Regions from separate parts of the Homo sapiens genome. Here all the other regions are linked to region 1. The links are contacts of gene promoters, found by promoter capture Hi-C in blood cells and fetal thymus (Javierre and others, 2016). All regions are on one chromosome and are shown on one strand. Each heading gives the region's core, a stretch centred on a gene start or on the middle of the fragment in contact. The rest is flanking DNA. Distances are from core to core; before and after follow the strand shown.

Region 1 (4,753 bases), core at 754-3,253:
ATAGTGAGATCAACATCTAGAAAGATCAAGTTAAAATGCGTCACGGGTCGGCGAGAGTCACGGCAGCCCTAACACTTTAATCCAGGCAGGGCTTAAATTTCACGCCCCGGAATCCCGGGCCGAACCCGTGGAGAGGTCTCTCCGTCTCACAAACACACGCACGCGCGCGCAGACACACACACGCGCACACACATCTCACTCACACACTCGCCCCACCCCGGGCTCCGGCCCAGCCGCGGCCCTAGCGCCGACTAAGACGCCCAAATCCAGCCGGCGGCCGGGAGAAGAAGCCTCCAGGGAAAGCGAGGGTTAAACTTCCACCTCGCGCAGCTCTCCGTGCCCTGCGGAGACCACCCTCACCTCTGGCCTCCCCCACTCCCCTCCCCGATTTTTAAGGAGAGTCGGGGGTCGCTGGGGAGCCTGAAGCACTAAGTTCCCACGACGGGGGCTGTGGAAAGTCATTCATCACAGCAAAGCTCCCGGGGATGGGGATGGGGATGGGGATGGGGGGGCGGGGACGCCGCGGTGGGAGGGTGCGGACGCCTGGCCCAGCCCCAGCTCGCCTCGCTCAGCCACCTGTAAGCAGGCCCGGGCGGGCGGGACTGCGCCGGCCCTGAGCCCCGCCGGGCTTGGGGACTGGGAACCGAGGGCTGCAGCTTGGCGCTGCCCACCCTGCCCGGCCAGGGGCTTCCGCAGCAGCCGCCCCTACCTATTTATCCGCCGCCCTTCTCTCCTCCCCAGGCTCCGCCGGCTCACACACACCCCCTTCCCCGCTCCCCGCACCCCGCTGCTGCAGCGCCCGCTGCGCCCCAGCTCCCCTTCCCCGGAGAGGACACTGCGCCCCCCGAAGTTTCTGCCCACTCGTCCACCTCGCTGCTCCCCGGTCCCCCCGAGGCAGAGCGACCGACGCAACACGCTGGAAACTCCCCACACACACTTAGGCATGGCAGAAAATAGAACCCAGTTGGGAAAATCTAAACATCGACCACCCTGGCAGGAACCAAAACGCTCTCTGCAGAGCCCGTGGCGCCCCAGCCGGCGGGGGGTGTGCGCCGGAGGAGCCGGCGCAGGGACGGGGCGCGGGGGCGGCACCAACCTCGGCCAGAACATGGGCGAGGTATCCGCAGCCGAGGAGCAGCAGGCAAGCCAAGGTCCTCATCGCGTCCCGAGGCGCTGGCTGCTCGGAGGAGAGGCGAGGCCGCGGGGCGGGCGCTCCAGCCGGTCTCCTGTGGCGGCGAAATTCAGTACCATCCCTTAGGGAGCGCGGCCCGGAGGAGGGTGGCGCGGGGAGCACGGAGCTGGCGGAGCGCGCCCGGCGCGAGCAGTGAGTGCGGAGAGGCAGGCAGCGCCAGCCAGGAGGAGGAGAAACAGGGAGTGCGCGCCCGCAGCGCGGGGAGCCTCCTGGGCCGCCGGGTAGGGGGTGGGGACGGAAGGGGCGGAGGGCGGGGGCTGGGCTTCTTCCTCGGTGCGTTCCCGGTGCTGGCCGCCGCCGCGCTCGCTCCCCGCGCTGGCTTCAGGAGCGACCCGGCCGGTAATTCTGCATATTTGCGGACATCAGCCCCAAGAAGAACTCCGGAGGGAGTCTGGGGCCGCCGCCGCCGCCGCCGCCACACCGATCACCTGCCTGGACGCCTGGCCCGGCCCCGGCTGCGAGCTGCGAGCCGCCCTGCGCGCCCACCGCCGGCCCCGCGCTCGCCTCCGGCCTCCTCTTGCAGCCGCCGCCCGGCCGGGCACAGCGCGGCCCAGCACCCCCTCCGCGGCGCGCCCTCGGCTCCGGCGCCGCGCTCCGCCCTCCGCTCGCCGGGGCCGGGCAGCGCCCGCGGCCGAGCCGCCTGGCAGCCACCACCCGCCGCCCGGGGCCTCGCTGCGCCGCCCGCGCGGGCCTGAGGGCGGGCGCAAGGCCGAGTCGGCGCCTCCGCCGCAGCCGCCGCCGGGAGAGGAGGAGGAGGAGTAGGCGCAGGCCCGGCTCGCCGGAGTTGGGCGGGCTCCGCAGGGCGCGCGTGTGGAGCCGGCCGGCGGCGGGGAGAGGGTTATAGCGCCGCCGCCGCGCCCCTCCCCCGCCCCCGCCCCCGCCCCCCCCCCCCGCCTCCCCCGGATTCCGGGCCTGGGACCCGCACCTCGGAAGCGCTCGGGGTTCGTGCGGACCCGGCAGGGCCCGGGCGCCGCCGCCGCGGCAGGGAGCACACACGCGCTCGCGCAAGCAGCTAAATCCATCAAAGCCCCGCGCCCGGCTCCGCGCCGGGGCTCCGCGCCCCTCCCTCGAGCTTGCCCACCCTCCAGTGCCAGCTGCAATCCTGCGGCACCGGGTGGGGAGGGAGGAGGCCGCCGCAGAAGCGCCGCCGTCGCCGGCTCGCCTCTCTCGGGCCCCAGCGGCGGCAGCGGGCAGCGCCCAGAGCTGCTGCGCCAAAAAGGGCCAGAGAGCCGGTCCCCGCCCCCGCCCCGGCGCTCCGGCCGCTCTCCACGGTTCGGATCCAGGGCCCCAGCCTTCCTCTCTCCATAAAAGGAGGGGGAGTCAGTCTTTGGGGAAGGAGGGGGGCGGGTTTGGGGCACTCACCTGGCGGCTGCCACGCGCCCCCGCCCAGGATCCGAGGCCTGGGGCATCTGAATGAGGACCCTCCACCCACATTTCCACTTGGGAGCGAGCTCCAGTCGGGGAAAGGGCCTGCAGCCCGCCTCGTCCCCACCCTGGGACCCCGCGCCCCCCAGTCCCCCACTCCCGCGCCGAAGGCAGGGCCGCGCCCTGAGCCGGGAAGTCGAGGGGATGGAAGGGAAAGGAGCCACCGGTGAGGGTCCCCCGGGTTCTGAGCCTCCCGCGTCGGGATCCGTGGGGCGCACAGAGCGCCACCTCCGGCCGAGGCGCAGCTCAGAGCGCGATGCGGGGGAGGAACGCGCGCGGAGGCCGAGGTCTGAGCGTGGCTAGACGGCTCCCACGCCGAGAAAGGGCGGGTGCGCCTGGGCTGGATGGATTTCGCCTCCCTAGACCAGGAGGGATTGGACCCTGACTACAGGTCCAGGTGCTCGTCAGTGCCCTGCCAGGGGGTCTACGCGTCCTGGTACCGGGTCCAGCGGGGTGGCGTGCTGTGCAGACCCCGAGGCTAGACGGCCTAGGCCCCTGGAGCCCAGGAGACGCTTCCTTGGGTGAGCAGCGGAGAATCCCGCCCGGCCCAGCCGTCACCCCCAACCCTGTCGATTAAACCCCTGCCCCCGTCGCGGTCGCCCTCCCTCCAGACAAAGGCCGTTAAGGCGCAGCCCCGCGGGCGGTCTTTCATCCCCAGCTAGGCCAGCTCTAGCATTTCAAAGGCCGAATCCGGAGAGCGCTTCGGGGGCTCTCCCCTTCCCCCAAATATTTGGGGAGCGACGCCTCTCCCTCCGCTCCCAGTGGGTCGCGTCTACACGCGCCCTTCCACACACCTGCAGGCCCCCTCCCCACGTCTCTCCCTTCCGTTGGCCGCAGCCCCACACCACGACCCCCGCGGTCAAGCATGCCCTCTGGGTGGTCAGGACCAAGCGGGACCGGGACAGAACCAGGGGAGCCTTGGAAACGTGGAGGAGCCCCTTAAAGCCAGGCCTTGTCCCTCCAGGGGGAACTTGCGGCTTGGGAGGGGACACCCACTGCATGGCTTCTGGAAAGAGCCGGACTCGCAGGGCCAGGACGCAGGCCGGACCCCGGCCTCATTCTTCGGCCAGTTATCCCGGAGTGGCGCGCATCCTGTCTTCCTGGGCCTCGGACTGCTCGCGCGCAGAGGGGGCCCGAGGACACCTCTGTGGGGTTAGAGGACTCGGTAAGACGGTGTGGAAGGCAAGGAGGAAGGTCGCGTTGTATTGGGGATGGGGTACCCGTCCCTCCCAGCTTGAGGGATCCTGGGGGTCCTCGCCGCCTCTGAGGGCCTAGATGGCTGCTTCCCTCGGCTCCCCTGCCCGGCCTGGAGCTACGGGTGCGCCCAGCTAGAGTTTAGGGCCACCTGGGGACGTGCAAGGGGCGCTGGAGCGAGGCGGGGGCTGGGGCGGGGCGTGGGTGCTTCACCCGCGGGGGACGCAGAGCTTAGGCGAAAGCGGTGCAGGCATCTCTCTAATCGCCGGCCGCTATTAAAAATAAAACCGCGACCCGTCGCCATGGCGACCACAACAACAGCGGCCGCGCGAGGGAGGCGAAAACTTGTGCAGCCGCGCGACAGCCGCCTTCTGGGGAGACTCGGGGCACGACGCACCCGGCGTGGGACTGGGACCCCCCTGCCCGGCCCCGCCACATTCTCCGCCGGATCCCCGGAAGACACAAGGAGACGTGGACCCCCACAGGCTTTTTTGGGGGGATTGGGCGTTGAAACCGCAGGGCTGACTTAACCAAGAGGTCACCGACTTGGATAAAAAACCCACGCCCGCGCGGACCCCCCTCCCCGGCCTTCGTTTCCATTCAAACTCCCAGCGTCCTCATTGCAGCCCCTGGGGAGGGGGACGGAGGGACGAGGTGGGTTTCAGGTGCTCGGCCCAGGAGGGGACGGTGCGACCCGGGCCCCGCCGGCGGGTTTTGCGCGCGGAGGCTGCGGCACCTGCCCCGCCCGCCCTGCCGCGATCCTTGCAGACGGGGGCGGTCACATGCTTCTTTCTGGCCAGGAATCGAGTTTCACTTCCAGCCGCTATTAGTCGGTTCACACAGTTCACTGCAAACATTTGATAATGAGGCTAAATATACTCCCGCGTCGGAGGAGGCGTGGGCGTCCCCGCCCAGGCCCGGGAGACAGAGGCGCTGACCCCG
Region 2 (4,753 bases), core at 1,663-4,162, 240 kb after region 1:
TGAGTGTGTGATCCACTGTGGGCTTCCACGGTACAGAGGGGCTGGTGTGTATTGATCAGCTTAGTGATGGGAAGGTTGGGTCACTGGTGTCCGATGAGGGGTGTGTGGTGAACCCCACAGCTGGGACACAGCATCCTTTGGGCCAGACTTCACTGCCTGGGAGGCGTGTCCGGCTCGCTGGCCTCAGGGACGTTCTGAGACCACACCCGGACCCTTGTACCTTTCCTGAGGGCTCTGAGCATGTGCCAAGGACTCACTCTGCCTAACACGGGGCTCTGTCTGGTGCACGGCTGTGTCTGGGAGGCCACGGCGCCGAGAGCAGGAGCCCGGCTGAGACCCTCGGGTTTGGCTCTGAGTTTTCTCATGTTTCTTTCTCGCAGTGTACCAGATCCGCAGAGCTCGTCGGGACGTTTGTCAGCCCTGAGGTGTTTCTGAAGCTGATCTTATCGACGCTGAAGAAGACGCCCTCTGCCTCCGGCCTCCTGGTGCTGGCCTCCGCCATGCGGGGTTGCCCCCGAGAAGCCCTCCAGCCGCACCTGGCAGCCATCGCCACAGAGCTGGCACAGGCCCACATCTGCCAGGCATCTGAAAACGTAAGAGCACTTGGGAGATGCGGGAGTGGAGAGGAGGAGCCTCCCCTGCCCGGCCGTCAGCCATCGTAATGACATGTCTGTGGGTTGCCCTGTGCCGCCAGGCTGGGCTGTCGGAAGCACCCAGCGACGTGTCTGTGGGTCCGCCCCGTGCCGCCAGGCCGGGCCATCGGAAACACCTGCAGTAACCGGAGTGCCCTCGCTGATAGCCCTTGTTCCGGGGCCTCGTCCTGGGCTGTGCAGAGCTCCAGCCCCAGCCCCAGCCCCAGCTGCAGGCGGCCGCTCACGTTTACATTCGTTGCTGCCCCTTTCTTGGCCACACACCACAGTTCACGTGTTTGATGACTCAGGAGGCGTCCATGGCCGGGACCCTCTGGCCCATGCTGCTGGGGGTAGATGTGGGGTCCACGTCATCCCACCCCTGAGGAGCGTGGTCGCACGTCCACCATCCCATCCAGTCCCCAGGGTACCTGCACAGATCGCACGTCCTCAGGGGGCACTGACAGCCTGTTCCCCATCAGCCCTGCCTGGCGTTCCGATCTGTGCTTCTCACAGCCCAGCTGAGGATTTGCCAGAGACATTTGTTTAATTTTAAATTGAGCAGCAAATCCTTGAGCTCAGAAGCTGGAACAGCCTGGGTAGTTGGGCTCAATTGTTTGGAATAATCCATAGTTGTATTCCATGGAAGAAGAGGTGATGGCTTTGCTTTCATTTGAAGGTGAGTGGTCCCTGTCAGTGTGTGTGTTGGACTCAGCACCCCAGATATTTCTGGGACACAGGGCTGCCCCCACCAGGCGGCCGTGCCATGCAGGGCGGGCCTCAGCTCACCCCTGGAGGCACTTGCTCCGGCTCGATCGTTTCCGGCGGCTTCTATGGCCCCAAAGCTGGCCTGGGGCACGGGGACTTGCCACTGTGCTCTCAGCCCGGCCTGTCCTGTGTCAGGCTCCCTCTCCGTCCTCAGAACGAGAGGTGGGGCTGTTGACAGTCATTTTTGTAAACTGTTTTAAGAAACCTGTAAGCAGTTCCTGGAATACATAGAGGGAAGGAAACGGAGCTGGGGTAAGGAAGGGAGCGGGGGAGGGGCCCGGGCCGCGTGCTCATGGCATTTCAGCCATGCTTCAGCTTTTCCCAAAACCCGTTTTTAACACATCATCGAATGTGTGTCAGTTCTCCACTTTCCTTCACCCACGAGGGGTTATGAGGATGCCTTTGATTTCTGTATACAGATTTGCAAGCCAGAAGCATTTTTTCCTAGAAGGGCATAACTTGAAAATGTGCACAGGTGCCTAAATCCTTATCTCACAAACTTTATAGCAAAGAAAGTGTAGTTTTCACATCTCCATGTTGGTTACAGGAAAACGGAATTGTGTCATCCCACAGTTGTGCATTTGGCTCCCCATCTTCCAGTTTTATCGAGGAAAAATTTAATCACAATCTTTCAAACAGAGACGTCTTTCTGACAAAGTCCAGTCACACGGGACCCCTGGGAAGCCAGCCTCAACCTTCCAGGCTGCGAACGTGTGTCGGCCCTTTGGCCAAGGAGCCAGTCACAGTGAAAACCCAAGACGTACATTTCACTCCTTTCTTGTTTTTATTTTTTTGTTTTAGGTTGATCCTCCCACCTCAGCCTCCTGAGTCACTGGGACTACAGGTGTGCACCACCACACCTGGGTAATTTTTTTTTATTTATTTTTATTTATTTACTTTTTGGGACAGAGTCTTGCTCTGTCACCCAGGCTAGAATGCAGTGGCGCAATCTTGGCTCACTGCAGCCTCCGCCTCCCAGGTTCAAGCGATTCTCCTGCCTCAGCCTCCCAAGTAGCTGGGATTACAGGCATGCACCACCACACCCGGCTAATTTTTGTGTTTTTAGTAGAGACGGGGTTTCTCCATGTTGGCCAGGCTGGTCTTGAACTCCTGACTTCAAGTGATCAGCCCACCTCGGCCTCCCAAAGTGCTGGGATTACAGGTGTGAGCCACCGCACCTGGCCCCATTTTACTCCTTAACAGACTTAAATTTTTGGCAAGAAAGGGTGAAGGTACTCAGGTCTCAGTCAGAATCAGGCCCGTGGTTCTGTGCTCTTCCCACGCCCCTGTGCTCTTCCCGCGGCCGGCCGGGCTTTGTGTCATGTCATTTGGGAAGTCGATTATGTTTCCCACAGCTATTCTCCAGTAGCTATGAGAACAGGTTGAAAATGTCTTTCAAGAACAAACCGAAATTGTTTTAAAAGCTCGTGTTTAAACAGAGAAGTCCGTGTAAATGTATTCTAAACTGAGCCTGGCTTCACTCCCTGCCCTGGGGTTCACAGGAAATCTGGCTTTAGCAGTAGGTACTTCCAGGTGTCTCGGGCCCAGTAGGTCCCCTAGAGCTCGACAGACGGGAACTGGAGTCTCCTGGGAAGGAGTTTAGGACAGGTGTCTAGAGTGAGGAAATGGGTAACTCACCGATTTGCTTCTCACACAGGGAAGCCAGCAGTTGTGGGATGCCATTGCCATTGTTGAAATAGGAGTCTCTTGTGCTTTTCTGAATTAAAAACCTTTGCAGTCTTAGATAACATTGTTTCAGAAAACAATGTTTGAAATAGTATTTCAAAAAATACTGAGAATTATTTCCTGCTGTATCTTTTTTCTTTTTCGTTCTGTGTGTGTGCGTTGTATGTAGGCAGACACTGAAAATTGTCTGGTCAAATATAGAGAAATCTATAAATGTGAAGTCTTGTCACTTCCTCAGAGACGGTGCTGCGTTCGTGGCAGGAGGGTGGTGCTTGCTGCAAAGGATGCCTGATTCCCTGTTTGTTCCTGTGCTTGGAGGTGTGGTCAGCCAGGAGGGGCTGTGTCTTCTAAACGCACCTGCCTTTTGATTTTAACCGAAAAGATGATCGCTCCTGAAATGTACATGACAGGTCATTCTAGAAACTAGCCAGATATTGTCCTCAGAAGTCAGCCAGTTAGTACAGGCCTTAGAGAAATTGGGCTGTGGGAAAAATCAGGAATGGAATAAAAACAAATCTGTGGCTTCTGTGGGAGTTGGGGCCACGACAGGGCCACACGGCTCCTCCAGCTCCGAGGGAGACGGGGCCGCGCGGCTCCTCCAGCTCTGAGGGAGACGGGGCCGCGCGGCTCCTCCAGCTCCGAGGGAGATGGAGCCATGCAGCTCTGTGTCTTCTGTGGGTCAGGGCGGGGCCGGGGTGCAAGGACAGAACGCTGCTGTAGTACAGTGGGAGTGTTTTGTTTAGTCTTCCATGATTTACGTCAGTGGGGAATGAGGCTTAGAGTTTTAGAGCTGATTAGGAAATTTAGAACCAACCCATTGTCTAGCCAAATAATTACCAAACTTCTTTGAACTTGCACCCCCATTAGTAAAAACAGTTTTTAAGCATAGGCCTCCAATATATGTACACTGTTGATAAATCACGTGTTTAAATTACATGGCCACGGTCCTGACTCACTCTGTACTTTATGAAACATACATAAAATAGACATTAGAGGGACGTTATAAGAAGTAAATACAGGCCAGGCGTGGTGGTTCTTATCTATGATCCCAGCACTTTGAGAGGCCACGGCAGGAGGATCACTTAAGGCTAGGAGTTTGAGACTGCAGTTAGCCACGATTGCACCACTGCACTCCAGCCTGGGCGACAGAGCAAGACCCTGTCTCTAAAAAATAAGTTAAAATTTATTTAGAAAGAAGTAAGCACACGCAAAGCCTTAGGAATTCTTGGGTCCAGCACACGCCTGCTGTGTTGCGGGCTTCAGAGCCTGGCTGATTCACAGTGGATGAGGCTGGAGCCGGGAGGGGAAGCCATTCATCCAGCGCAGCCGTAGGTGCAGAGCTGAGACTCCACCTCCCCGTCAATCAGTAAACATGTTAAGCCATAGAATTTTATTTGTCTTAAAACTTGGTGTTATAGAAAAGCTCAAAAATGCACAGAAGAGGGGCAGGCAGCAGAGCGACTGCCAGCTTCAGCGCTGACCAGCCCTTGGCATGCGTGTTCTGCCTGCCTGGGGCCACTTTTCTTTTTAACTTTGGAGGGCGGGGAGAACTTGGGCATGTTGTAAAGCAGATAATGCAGTGCGCCGTCATTTCCCTCACAGGTGCCGTGTGCATCACTAACGCAGCTTCTCCACCACATAGCTCAAGTGCCTGTTCACATTTCACAAAA
Region 3 (4,753 bases), core at 1,332-3,831, 210 kb before region 1:
TGGTCCCTCGGCTCTGGACAGACGCCCCCCCAGCCAGCTGAGGATGCGAATATTCATGGCCTGGTGCCGGGTCCGGGGCTGGCTGGTGTTGCTGGGCACTGAGGATGTGCCACGTACATGGAGTCCAGACCATGAGAGCTTTTCAGATGTCCCCAAGAAGCCACCTCATCTGCAGTCATCCCTGGGGTCACGGGGCCGACTCGGGGCAGAGTGACCTGCAGTCATCCCTGGGGTCACGGGGCCGACTTGGGGCAGAGTGACCCAACCCCTTGCAGGCGCGGACCTCCCGCACACCCTGTGTCCTGCGCCCTCCAGCCCGGGCCTCTGCCCTCTCTGTCCCGGCCCTGGGCACCCTCTGGCCAGGTGGCTCCCAGCCCCAGGGAGGGGCTCCAAACAGAGCTAAGTTCCTGCCCAGGGCAGCCTTGCTGCTTCCTACGGCCGGAATCCCAGCCCAGGGTCTCAGGCGTCGGGACGCAGGGGGCTCCAAGCTTCACATGTGTGAGGGCTGCAGACAAGGACGCTTTATGAGATGAGATTGCACGCAGACATGTGTGTGAGAGAGAAATGTGTCAAATTACTCAAAGTAAACATTAAAAATTTTAAATAACAATTTAAAAAGGTATAGTTATGTTTGGCCAGTCCTCCCATTTTTGAAAATAATCCCTTCTCCCGCCTTTTTTTTTTTTTTTTTTAAGACAAGGTCTCACTTCATTGCCCGGGCTGGAGTACGTACAGTGGCGTGATCACCGCTCACTGCAGCGTCAACCTCCTGGACTCAGGTGATCCTCCCACCTCAGCCTCCCAAGTAGGTGCCACCACGCCCAGCTAATTTTGTGTGCGGGTGTATACACACTATATATCTAATATTTATCATATATTAGAGACGGGGTTTTCCTATGTTGCCCAGGCTGTTCTCAAATCCCTGGGCTCAAGTGATCCACCCACCTTGGCCTCACAAAGTGCTGAGATTACAAGCCACCATGCCCAGCCAGTTCTTTATTTTTTTAACATTCCTGTGACGGCAGTAGATACAAGTGGCCTTGTTCCCTCTCTGCCTGGAGAGACCCTGACCACACTCCCCCACCCAGAACTGGGCACCCTCAGCTCCCCCACCCAGAACCGGGCACCCTCAGCTCCCCCAGCCAAGCCTGCTTTCCTCGCTGCTTCTCTGTCAGCCTCCGGAGCTGCTCTCTGCCTTGTTCTTCGTCTGCTAAAAAACAAAATGTTAGCTCCTGTGCTTAGGGAGGGCATCTTTCCCCCTCTCAGCTCAGCTAACCCCTATTTGTGCCCCGAGATGCAGCTCCCAGGCTGCCTCCTCCAGGAAGTCTTTCCTGACTGCCCCTCCTCTCCAGGTGGGGTTGGAGACACCTGCCCCAGTATTTCTGACTTCCAAGCACCAATTTCCGTCTATTTTGATCACAGCACCTCCTAGAAGGGCCCTGATGTTCATGAGGAAGGATTCCAATCTTCCCTTTATTCCTTTTGGTGCAGAGCCCACCAGGCACCGGGACCCTGCCTGCCTGGCCTCCACCTCACCTGCCATGTGGACCCTGATCTGTCACCAATGGCTTGAAACTTCAGAGACTCAGATTGTGCTTCACCCAAAAGCAACACTGATGATGACAATGGCTTGCACTGTATGGAGCTAACCACGTGTGGACGCTGCTTTACTTTACCTATATTTACTCATTTAATCATCACAGCAACCCTCTATGATAGGCACCACATCATCCCATTTTACAGATGAGAAAACCAAGGCACAGAAAAGTTAAGTTACTTGCTTGAGGTCACATAGCCAGCAAAGTGGTGAGGCGAGCATTTGAACACAGGCAGCCTGGGTCCAGGGTCCACACTTTTAGGCTTTTCTTCCCACAGGGTGGCAGATTTAATTTTTAAAAAAGATACCAGTACCATGTGAAAAGCCTTGGCTGAGGCCGAGCAGCTCAGCGAAGTTACTGCTGACACAGGTAATCAGAAAGGCTCATCCAAGGTCAAGAATGTTAGACAGAAATATGGAAATGCAGCCAGGGAAACCAGGACGGTAAACTTTGGGATAAATGCAGGTGTATATTAATTGTACAAAGCAACAATTATTAGGTCTTGTGGAGTTAAAATATGCAAAGAAATAAAATGCAAGAAGACCACAATGCAAAATGAGGAGGGTGTAGAATTCAAAGCTTCTAAGATTATAGCAACATAAATACAGCTGTTATTAGTAATGGTAATAATTGGATTAGACCATAATAAGTCAAGAATACATTTTATAATTGCTAGGGCAAACCTTATAAAAGAGGTAGTAAAATAATATACAACTCACAAATAATGGAAGAAAAATGTTAACCCATTCAAAGAAAGTTAAGAAAGGAAGAAAAAAGGAAACAAAAAACTAATGGACAAAAAAGAAAACAAAACAGTAAGAGGGTAGATCTAAATCCCATTAAATGTAAATGGATAAAAAACCCACTGATGGTCAGACTAGATCAAGAAAAAATCAACTGTATGTTGCTTACAGGAGACACATTTTAACTGTAAGGACACAGAAAGGTTAAAAGTAAAAAAACTATATAGCACGAGGACACTAACCAACAGAAGGTTGGTGTAGCTATATTAACAGACGAAACAGACACTAGTGCAGTGGCTCACGCCTGTAATCCCAGCACTTTGGGAGGCTGAGATGGGTGGATCACCTGAAGTCAGGAGTTCAACACCAGCCTGGCCAAATACTGAAACCCTGTCTCTACTAAAAACACAAAAATCAGCTGGGCATAGTGGTGGGCACCTGTAATCCTAGCTACTTGGGAGGCTGAGGCAGGAGAATCGTTTGAATCTGGGAGGTGGAGGTTGCAGTGAGCTGAGATCAGGCCACTGCACGCCAGCCTGGGTGACAGAGTGAGACTCTGTCTCAAAAAAATAAAAAAACAGATAGTAAAGTTAAAAACTTTTCTATAGATAAAGAGTGACATTTCATAATGGTAAGATCTAACAACAAGCTTAACCACATGTCATATACACAGGCCAGTACTCCAGAACATGGAGTCACCATCCTCCCAAATTCACATGAAACATTTGCTAAATTGATCGTACGTTGGGCCATTAAGAAGCCTCAACAAATTTTAACAGATTGTAAAGTATGTTCTCTGAATACAATAAAATTAATCTAAAACTTGATTAAATATAACTAGAAAAACTCCAGCTGCCTGAAAATTAAACAACACATTCCTAAATAGTCCATGATTCAAAGAGGAAATCAAAATGGAAATGATAAAATATTTTGTGGCCGGGTGCAGTGGCTCACGCCTGTAATCCCAGCACTTTGGGAGGCCGAGGTGGGTGGATCACCTGAGGTTGAGAGTTTGAGACCAGCCTGACCAACATGGAGAACCCTATCTCTACTAAAAATACAAATTAGCCAGGCGTGGTGGTGCATGGCTGTAATCCCAGCACTTTGGGAGGCCGAGGTGGGTGGATCACCTGAGGTTGAGAGTTTGAGACCAGCCTGACCAACATGAAGAACCTCATCTCTATTAAAAATACAAATTAGCCGGGTGTGGTGGTGCATGCCTGTAATCCCAGCTTCTCGGGAGGCTGAGGCAGGAGAATTGCTTGAACCTAGGAGGCGGAGGTTGCGGTGAGCCGAGATCACACCATTGCACTCCAGCCTGGTTGACAGAGTGAGACTCTGTCTTAAAAAACAAACAAAAAAAATAGTTCTAAAAGGTAATGAAGATGCACCCAGCCAAACTGTGGGATGCGGCCTAGGCAGCCCTTCGGAGGAGACTTACACCCTTCACGGAACGCAGTAAAAAGAAGAAAGGCAGAAAGATCAACAGTGTAAGGGTCCCTCTTCATCAGAAAAAGAGCAATGAACCAAACCTATGAATAAAAATACTAGAGATGAGAACAGAAAAACAACAAAATATGAAACAAAAGTACAATGGGGAGGCTCAACAAAGATTTTTGAAGATCAATAAAATTCACCGAGGTGTGAGAACCGAAAGCCCGGGCTTCGGGTGGGGATTTCGGCTTCCGCGTGGCCCTGGGTGAAAGTGCAGCCGTGGGATCTTGGTGGAGAGAAACGCTGGGCAGGGAAGAGGGTGGGACAGAAACACGGAAATGCGGGGCCCAGGCCCTGGGGCTGTTTCCACACAAACTGGGTCCCCAAGCCCTTCAATTCATCAAAAGAACCCAAGTCCTCAAGGACAAAGGGAATGTGGACAGCAGTGGCTGGAAAAACCAACTGAGAGCTCAGATGAGAAAGGGGCCATGACGGCTGTCCTCGCATCCCTCCTGAAGGTGCCACAGCCATCGTCTCTGCGAGTCTCCACCCCTTTGCTCTCCTGCTGCCCTGTCCCACGCAGGCAGTGCTCTCAGCGGGGGTGGTTTACCTCCAGGGCAAATTCGGCAAAGTCTGAATATATTTTTGGTTGTCATGACTGAGGGGTTCCCAGTGAGAAAGGGCAAGGATCCCAGCAAACACCCTACAGTCCCCACCACAACGAATAATCCAGCCCTAAATGTCGATAGTCAACAGTGCCAAGGTTGAGAGACCCTGATATGGGTGGTGTGGTGGGGTTTAACCTTTAATTTTTTTTTGTTATTGTTGTTCTGTTTTTTGTTTTTGTTTTTGTTTTTGAGACAGAGTCTTGCTCTGTCACCCAGGCTGGAGTGCAGTGGCGCGATCTCGGCTCACTGCAAGCTCCGCCTCCCGGGTTCACGCCACCCTCCTGCCTCAGCCTCCCGAGTAGCTGGGACT

What was found. Contacts are between HindIII fragments. The CHiCAGO score rates a contact against its expected background, and 5 or more counts as called.
Region 2: a contact is called between a fragment that was not itself captured here and the fragment with the promoter of PDGFA in region 1, in 2 of 17 cell types (activated CD4 T cells and naive CD8 T cells). The highest score is 6.4, in activated CD4 T cells.
Region 3: a contact is called between a fragment that was not itself captured here and the fragment with the promoter of PDGFA in region 1, in 1 of 17 cell types (activated CD4 T cells). The highest score is 5.5, in activated CD4 T cells.

The regions. Positions count from the first base shown.
Region 1 is chr7:517,843-522,595 of GRCh38, forward strand. It overlaps PDGFA (platelet derived growth factor subunit A), which reads right to left and starts at 2,004. Exons shown (of 6, transcript NM_033023.5): 1 at 1,097-2,004. The coding sequence starts at 1,159. PDGFA-DT (PDGFA divergent transcript) reads left to right here and starts at 2,549. Exons shown (of 3, transcript NR_033963.1): 1 at 2,549-4,753. RefSeq lists enhancers at 796-1,717, 3,562-4,483 and silencers at 974-1,063, 1,524-1,663, 1,944-2,033, 2,134-2,473, 4,139-4,218 and 1 more. The HindIII fragment of the contact is 35,865 bases long and covers 1-4,753 here.
Region 2 is chr7:756,402-761,154 of GRCh38, forward strand. It overlaps DNAAF5 (dynein axonemal assembly factor 5), which reads left to right. Exons shown (of 13, transcript NM_017802.4): 6 at 381-593. Among named protein-coding and RNA genes, the nearest start is that of PRKAR1B, 31 kb to the left of the region's middle. The HindIII fragment of the contact is 7,680 bases long and covers 1-4,753 here.
Region 3 is chr7:305,716-310,468 of GRCh38, forward strand. No RefSeq gene overlaps it. Among named protein-coding and RNA genes, the nearest start is that of FOXL3-OT1, 17 kb to the left of the region's middle. The HindIII fragment of the contact is 813 bases long and covers 2,176-2,988 here.